2 separate regions of the Homo sapiens genome follow, and region 1 is linked to region 2. The links are contacts of gene promoters, found by promoter capture Hi-C in blood cells and fetal thymus (Javierre and others, 2016). All regions are on one chromosome and are shown on one strand. The core of a region is centred on a gene start or on the middle of the fragment in contact, and the rest is flanking DNA. Distances in the headings are between cores, read along the strand shown.

Region 1 (4,639 bases), core at 1,722-4,221, 200 kb before region 2:
TGAGACCAGCCTGGCTAACATGGCGAAACCCCATCTCTACTAAAAATACAAAAATTAGCTGAGTGTGGTGGCGCACGCCTGTAGTCCTAGCTACTCAGGAGGCTGAGGCAGGAGAATTGCTTGAATCAGGGAGGGTGAGGTTGCAATGATGCCCACGGTGATGGATTAGAGGTGGAGATCTCATTAGGAACTCACGCTCAGCTTCGTACAGACACAGATGGTCACACACAAACACCTGCAGATGTGTGCAGACGTGGTTAGGATGCACACGTATGTCCTGTTGCTCTGTCAGTGGAGAGTGTTGACAGCTGTTGTGAGACCTCGGTTCTTGTCTTCTTAGTTTAAAATAATTTAAACAAGACACACAGGAGATGCAGCACAGAGGAATTCATTGCAAAGGAGAAAGAATGTTGTGGAAGTGAGGTGCAGAACAGACAGGATGCCCTGGGCGAGACAGGGTGCAGGGCGGGCTGCTCACAAGGATGAGAAGCAGAGACCGGCCTGAGGGAGGCTCCCTTTATGGGACTCTTCCATGATTATTCCTAAGGAGCTGGGAAGAGGTGTTGCTAGGAAGCATGTTCTGGGTGGTCCTCTGGGTGCATGTGTGCAGTAGCTGTACACGCTTGTTCATACCATTCATGTCTCATTAGCATCTTAAATCTCCACCCAGGGATGTGCTTTATACTATTATAAGGAGCAAAGGGTCAGAGTGAGGACAGGTAAAATCAAAATGTGCATGCTCTCTACGGGGGAAATTCCCTCCTGAGATAGCTTTGTTCGAATGAGCTCAATGACAACATGAATGGGGAGGCTTGTTGCCTTGGCCCAGTGGTCACTACGGTTGCTGCGAGGAGATGGCCACTTCCTTGACAACCTCTCCTGCCTCAAGAGGGCCCCAAACCTATGGCACCCCACAGCAGCAGGAGGTTGAATACCAGGCTCCAACCCAAGGACCAGGGACCCTTGGAGACATGGCAACTTCTAGGACTGAGGCAAAAAAGATAAAGGTGAGTCTGGAGCATCTTGTAGCTCCAGAAAAAAAAAATCTAAAAGAAAACAAAGCAAAGCCCCGATACATGCAGTGATGGAAAGTATCAGAAGCACGTTGTAGGGACACGTGAGCCAAAAGAAAGCGCTCCTGGGGGTTACAAATAGAACAATTCGATCAACACAATAAATAGAGAGAGTAGCATTGACTCTAACCCGAACTGTAAAATAGATATCCATGAACATGACTGATAGAAATAAGTGATTTAGTAAATAAATAAAGGAGGATCACTTGAACTCGGGAGGCAGAGGTTACAGTGAGCCGAGATCGCACCACTGCACTCTAGCCTGGGCAATAGAGCGAGACTCCGTCTCCAAAAGAAGTAAATAAATAAAAGTAAATAAATAAATGGGAGTGGATAGGCAAGTCCCCCATGCAGAAGAGTTCCCACTAATTCTGTGTAGCCCTCACCCCTTAAGTGCAGGCAGCACTGGGACCTCCTTCTGAGAATGCAGCACGGGACAGGGGAATTCAGGAGCATCTTTCCGTGGGGAATCCTGAAAGACACAAACACAGCCAGGAGACGGGGGCAGCATAGCCCGCGAGGCACGACGAGCCATGCCAACAGGACAGGCCCTCAGCATGGGGTGACGAGAAGGGCATCTCCCTCTGTGCTCTTCCTTCCCACATCCACAGCCCCGTCTAATCGTGAAAACACCAGACAGATCCTAATAAGGGACACCCTACAAACACCTGAGCAGTCCTCTGAACCCTCCAGGTCACCACCAACAAGGAGAGCCTGGGAAACGGTCACCGCCCAGAGGAGCCCAGGGAGACGGACAAGGGAATGTCACGTGGGACCCTGGGTGGGGCCCTGGGACAGAAACGGACCAGCACGTAAATGCTAATGAGAGAAGAACAAAGTGTGGACTTTAGTTAATAATAATGTATCAATATTGGTTCTCTATTTTATTTTATTTTAATTTTTTTTTTGAGATGGAGTCTCGCTCTGTCACCCAGGCTAGAGTACAGTGGCGTGATCTCGGCTCACTGCAACATCTGTCTCTCAGGTTCAAGCAGTTCTCCTCCTTCAGCCTGCTGCATAGTTGGGATTACAGGGGTCCACCACCACGCCTGGCTAATTTTTGTATTTTTAGTAGAGACGGGGTTTTGCCATGTTGGCCAGGCTGGTCTCGAACTCTTGACCTCAAGTGATCCGCCTGCTTCAGCCTCCCAAAGTGCTGGGATAACAGGCGTGAGCCACCGTACTTGGTCATTATTTAGTTTTTAGTTTAGTTTAGTTTAGTTTTTTCTTCAGACAGAGTCTTGTTCTGTGGCCCAGGCAGGAGTGCAGTGGTATGATCTCAGTTCACTGCAACCTCCACCTCTTGGGTTCAAGCGATTCTCCTGCCTTAGCCTCCTGAGTAGCTGGGATTACAGGCGCCAGCCACGACGTCCAGCTAATTTTTGTATTTTAGTAGAGACAGGGTTTCACCATGTTGGCCAGGCTGGTCTCCAACTCCTGACCTCAAGTGATCCTTCCGCCTCAGGCTCCCAAAGTGCTGGGATTACAGGTGTGAGCTACCACGCCTGGCCCAATATTGGTTCTCTAATTGTAAGAAACATACCATACTGAAGTAAGATACTAATAATGGGGGAAGCTGGGTGTAAGGTGTATGGAAACTTGCTTTGCAATTTTTCTGTAAATCTAAAACAATTCCAAAAATAAAGCTTATTAAAAAATAATTTAGACTCCCATGAAACTGATTTCTTTGAAGAATTAATTTTTTTAAAAAAAATTTCTCCACAAGAATCACCAGGTCTACATGCGCTGACATTTATCATTTAAAACAATTTATCAGAAACTAATCCTAATGTTGTCACAGCCTGTAAGATACCTTTACTGCTCCAATAACAGCTGTATCAGCACAAAGATTCTTCTCAAAGGTCATCAAAAATTATTTGAGATCTTGCATTTGCCAAAAAAGACTGAAATAACTTTCAGTTATGTCAAAACCGAAAATGAAATTTCTGAAGTATCCATTTTGATGATCTAATAAATGAATTTGCAGAAAAAATTGGAAAAATCATAAACATCCTATTAATAAAATATTATTTATTATATAAAATTCTGAATCCAAAAATTATTGTTTTGTAGTTTGTAAATTGGTGTTGTTACTTGGCACCACTATCACCCCTATTTATTGTGTAAGTGATAAAATCATTCCTAAAGGGGAAAGCTTTCACTGTGGTTTTTTGCTGCTTTTTTTTTGTCCCAAGACAGAGTCTTGCTATTTCCCCCAGGCTGGAGTGCACTGGCACAATCTTGGCTCACGGCAACTTCCACCTCCTAGGTTCAAGCAATTCTCCTGCCTCAGTGTCCGGAATAGCTGGGATTACAGGCACACGCCACCACCCCTGATTAATTTTTGTATTTTTGGTAGAGACAGGGTTTCACCATTTTGGCTAGGCTGGTCTCGAACTCCTGACCTCGTGATCTGCCCACCTCAGCCTCCTAAAGTGCTGGGGTTACAGGTGTGAGCCACCACACCCAGCCTTTTGCTACCTTTTGAACCAGGAGTCCCACCATTTCTGTGTCTGGCCTATCTCTCTCCCTCTCCAGGGCCCAGCTCCTCGGACCCCTCCCGGGTCCTCACCTGACCCTGCCACACTCTCGCCCCCGACCCTGGGCTGGGCTCCACCACAGGCTGCTGACAAATAAACAAGAGATTGGCAAATCAGACCCAGCATCAGATTTGCACAATGATGCATCGTGGCAACGAAGGGTTGACATCAAGAAAGCAAATGTGCCTGATATTGTAAATAATACCAGACATAAATGAGGCTGCATGTGGTGGCTCATGCTTGTAATCCCAGCACTTTGGGAGGCTGAGGCAGGTGGATCACCTGAAGTCAAGAGTTCAAGACAAGCCTGGCCAACATTGCAAAACCCTGTCTCTACTAAAAATACAAAAATTAGCCAGGCGTGGTGGCAGGTGCTTGTAATCCCAGCTATTCGGCAGGCTGAGGCAGGAGAACTGCTTGAACCCAGGAGGCAGAGGTTGCAGTGAGCCCAGATCACGCCATAGCACTCTAGCTTGGGCGTCTCAAGAAAAACAACAACAAAAAACCAAACCAACAATAAAACACTCACCGTAGTAATGACAGACACGGGGGAAAACATCATCTGTTTTCTCCATGTTGCGGAAAAGGTATTAATAAACCATCAATGCCTGATACAGTAACAATAGAACGGCGACAGATGGAGAAGCCCTTCATACAGTATAAACACAGGCACGCCCATAATTAGGTTTTCCTGCAAATGTGCACGTTCATATCTAAAGCGAAATCACATCTCTATTCGGCACCATGCCAGGGGCGGAAGGCGCCTGCTCTCTAAGACAATGGTTTTATAGTAACGATTGCAGCCTCCACCCAGAGAGCTTCAGGGGCCTGAGCTAGGGGCTGTGCTGAGGAGGGGGCTCCGGTCACCTGCGGTGTCTCCCCCACCCCTCCCAACGCCCAATCTCCTCCAGCTAGGCCTCCCTCTCGGACCCCGGGCCTTGCTTGAACCAAATGGTTCGACCTCTGCCTCTTCCTAAGGCTCATTCCTGAGCTGGGAAGAGAAAGTGAGGAAATTCCTTGCAGAAA
Region 2 (3,532 bases), core at 1,033-3,532:
CCCCAGCATCGGCAGCCAGCGCCCCCAGGGTCCTGGGGTTCTCCGGAGCAGCTTCTGGGTGGCCCCTGTGCTCCTCTGGGGACAAGGTCACCAGGCTGGCCCGGGAGTGCCGCTGGCCGGCCGCGGCAAATCACTGCAGGGGAGCTCTCCCCGCCCGGCCCTGACTGTTCTTAGACTAAAGGAGGGGGGACGCCAGCAAAGCGGGGGCACAGGGGAGGGGCGCACGCACACGCACACGCACACATGCCCGCACTCACAGATGGAGATTCTGTATTGGCAACTTATCCGGAATCTCAACCATAAAAATCTGGAGTGAAGCTACTTTAATCTCAGCATGTATACAGGCTCTGACATTTCAAAAAGAGAAGTTGCCTTGAAACTCCACGTAGGGAGGAGGCAGTGGCCTGTTTGAATCTGGCCGGCACAGTCCCGCTCCAGGGACCCTGCGGACCCAGCCCATTCCATCAGCCACCACCAGTAGGAGCGCTCCGCCAGCCACGTGTGGGACGCCGGACCCACCTGGGAGTGTCCCCCAGGAGCTGAGGGGCTGCCGAGGCCCGTGAGCTTCACTGCACACCCACACTGCATCTGCAGGGGACTCACCCAAAGGGTCCCCCGAACTCGACAAGCTCCGTCATTTGTGAGGCCCAGTGCAGAATGAAAATGTGCAGCATCTTGTTCCAAAATTAAGAATTTCAAGATGGCCCCAGCACGCATTAAACCAAGCAGGGACCCCTCTGAGCATGGGGCCCTGCGCACAGGGTGCAGCCTGGAAAGCTGGCCCTGACCTCCGCATCTCCTTTTTGTACCTATAATCCCTCCATTGTGCTGGCCCCTGTGTTCTGGGGACAGGCTGGGCTTCCCAGGCCATGCTGGCCTCCAGAGCCACAAAACTAGAGCTCCCAGCCTCGGTCCACTCGTCTGTAAAACACCTGGCCTGCTGACCTCACAGGGTCAACATGCGTGTGGGGCTGGAACCTGGACCCTCCCTCCCCTCCTTGAGCTGCAGCCCCCTCATCTGAACACTGGGGGTTTGGGTCCGTTCTGGGAGTGCAGCTGCCTCTCCCAGCCTGCCAGGGAGTGGGGCATTGATGCTGTGTGCGCGTGCGTGTGTGTGTGTGTGTGTGTGTGTGTGTGTGTGTGTGTGTGTGTGTGTCTGGAGTCATGGCAGGGTCCCTTTCTGTCTGTCTCCTTGCTCTGCCCCAGACTGGGGGGCTGCAGAGGTGAGGGTATCTGGCCTCAACAGCTGCTTATTCCCGATGGGATGGCCTGGGCTGGGCCCCTGAGGCCAGGCTGACTTGGACATGGCAAGAGGGGTCCCAGGCTCTTGTGGGCAAAGCAGGGGAGGCGCCAATGTGGAGGAACAGAGTCTCCTGGCTGGCTGCTGCTCTCTGGAGCGGGTGGAGTCAGGGAAGAGCTGAGCTGGGGAGTCACCCTGGGCCTGGGGTCACCGTAGGCCCCATGTAGCACCCTGGTTCCCCTGCCTGTAGGTGACAGGAGCCAGCCCAGCCAGGTGTGCTCCCTCCCCAGGCCCTAGGCAGGCGGGTACAGGGGCCAGCAGCTGCGCCCGCCCCACCTTCCTTCCCACCCACATGCCGAAGGGTGGCCAGGCAGGCAGGTGGACGAGTCCAGGCAGCGGCTGAGTCAGTGTGTGTGGAATGTTCTGGCCGCTCCCAGCTGCACCCTGCCCCTACCTGCCACCACCTCACCTTCATCCTCAGGCGCTGCGGCCCTGAGCCCCTGCCAGGAATGCACCTTTAGCCCAGGCCTGCTCAGTGAGCTCCGCCGACAGCCAGCCCTGCTCCTCCCGCCATGACCCTGCAGACCCCTCTGGGCTTCCAAGTTCCTGGGGGCTGCAGTGAACATGCTCCACCTGCATGGCTGGCAAACCATGGTGGGCCCCAGCTGTGGTGCGTGCTGGGGTAGAGGCAAGGAAGTGATGGGACCGCAGAGATGAGACCCCCAGGGATGAGATGGGACCCCCAGGCAGGGCCCAGGGTCCAGGGCCCAGGAGAGAGAAGCAGGGAGGGAGAGAGCTTCCTGGTGGAGGACGCATCCTACAGTGGGGGCAAGGGTGCTCTGAGGTCCGGTGAAGGCAGGGACTAGGCTGCCCAGGCCCTGCCTGCTTGGCTGGGGCTGGGGGCTGCTGGGAGGTGGCTGGGAGGCTGGGCCTGGGCAGCTAAGCTGGAGCTTTGGCCAGGGTCCAGAGCCTCCCTCCCTTCAGCTTCCTGCTGCACAGAACCCTCGCCCCTGGCCACCCCGTGCTGCCTCCTTGCCCTGGCAGACCCAGCACTGGCTGCTGCTAGTCAGATGGGGTAGCGGGCAGGGGCCGGAGGGGCCACCCTCCCAGCTGACCCAGCCTCCTGGGCCGCTTCTTCCAAACCAGCAGGGTAGAAAGATGGGGCACCCACCAGTCTCTCCCAGTGCCCCGGCCCCAGCTGGCACCACAGCTATACCTGGGCTTATTCCAGACCTTGTCGCCGGGACCCCCTGTGAGTTGTGGGATTCCCAAGAGGGGTGTGGGGATAACCCAGCCAAGTGGGGGCTGCAGCTGTCCACAGATGCACTCAGCCTGGCCTCTACCCCAGGGCCCCGCTGGGCTCTCATTGCCGGCGCCCTTGCCGCGGGCGTCCTCCTCGTCTCCTGCCTCCTCTGTGCTGCCTGCTGCTGCTGCCGCCGCCACAGGAAGAAGCCCAGGGACAAGGAGTCCGTGGGTCTGGGCAGTGCCCGCGGCACCACCACCACCCACCTGGTGAGGAGCGGCTCCTTGCTCACTCAGTCCAGAGAGGGCTTGAAATCCAGGCTCCAGAGCCCAGGGCAGCGAGGCGAGTTCAGCCCCAGGGATGGTTTAACCCCCACAGAGGCAGGGCGTTGAGGACCTTCCTGGCAGGGAAAGTGGGTGAACAGAGGTGAGAAGGAGGCCATGCAACAGGGGCTGCCCCATGGGCCCGAGGGAGCCACAGCGGGTTCTTGAGGAAGGCAGGGGGTACCCCAGATGCCACGTTTTGGGTGGGTTTGGCCGGTCTCACAGAGCGAAGCCGACGATTTGTGCCTGTTGGGTGGCCTGGCCTGGAGGCGGGGGGTCTTGACCCATGTCATGCAAGGGCTGCCCGGGAGCCCAGGGCTCTGATGAGGCATGATGTCAGCACCACCTGCCCCTTGTCCCAACTCACTCCAGGTGCAACCTGATGTGGATGGCCTGGAGTCCAGCCCGGGGGATGCTCAGCAATGGGGGTGCCTGCAGCTCTCCCTGGAGTTCGACTTTGGAAGCCAGGAGGTGAAGGGCCCCGCTGCGCAGGACCAGCGGTTCTGCGAGTTTCCGGAAAGGGTGACGGGGGAAGGGCAGACCCCATGCCCTGGGTGGTGGGGAGCTGACAGGGCAGGGGCCCTTGGCTGAGCCCACCCCGCTGGCTCCCAGATCAGGGTGGGCCTGAGGCAGGCAGCCGACCTGAGGCCTGGGGGCACCGTGGACCCCTATGCCCGGGTCAGCGTCTCCACCCAGGCCGGACACAGACATGAGACAAAAGTGCAC

Evidence for each region. Contacts are between HindIII fragments. The CHiCAGO score rates a contact against its expected background, and 5 or more counts as called.
Region 1: a contact is called between a fragment that was not itself captured here and the fragment with the promoter of SYT8 in region 2, in 1 of 17 cell types (fetal thymus). The highest score is 5.1, in fetal thymus.

The regions. Positions count from the first base shown.
Region 1 is chr11:1,634,916-1,639,554 of GRCh38, forward strand. No RefSeq gene overlaps it. Among named protein-coding and RNA genes, the nearest start is that of KRTAP5-5, 7.5 kb to the left of the region's middle. The HindIII fragment of the contact is 509 bases long and covers 2,718-3,226 here.
Region 2 is chr11:1,832,708-1,836,239 of GRCh38, forward strand. SYT8 (synaptotagmin 8) reads left to right here and starts at 2,283. Exons shown (of 8, transcript NM_001394072.1): 1 at 2,283-2,492; 2 at 2,589-2,752; 3 at 3,179-3,277; 4 at 3,419-3,532. The coding sequence starts at 2,399. RefSeq lists silencers at 1-21, 82-141 and enhancers at 244-859, 860-1,473. The HindIII fragment of the contact is 25,919 bases long and covers 1-3,532 here.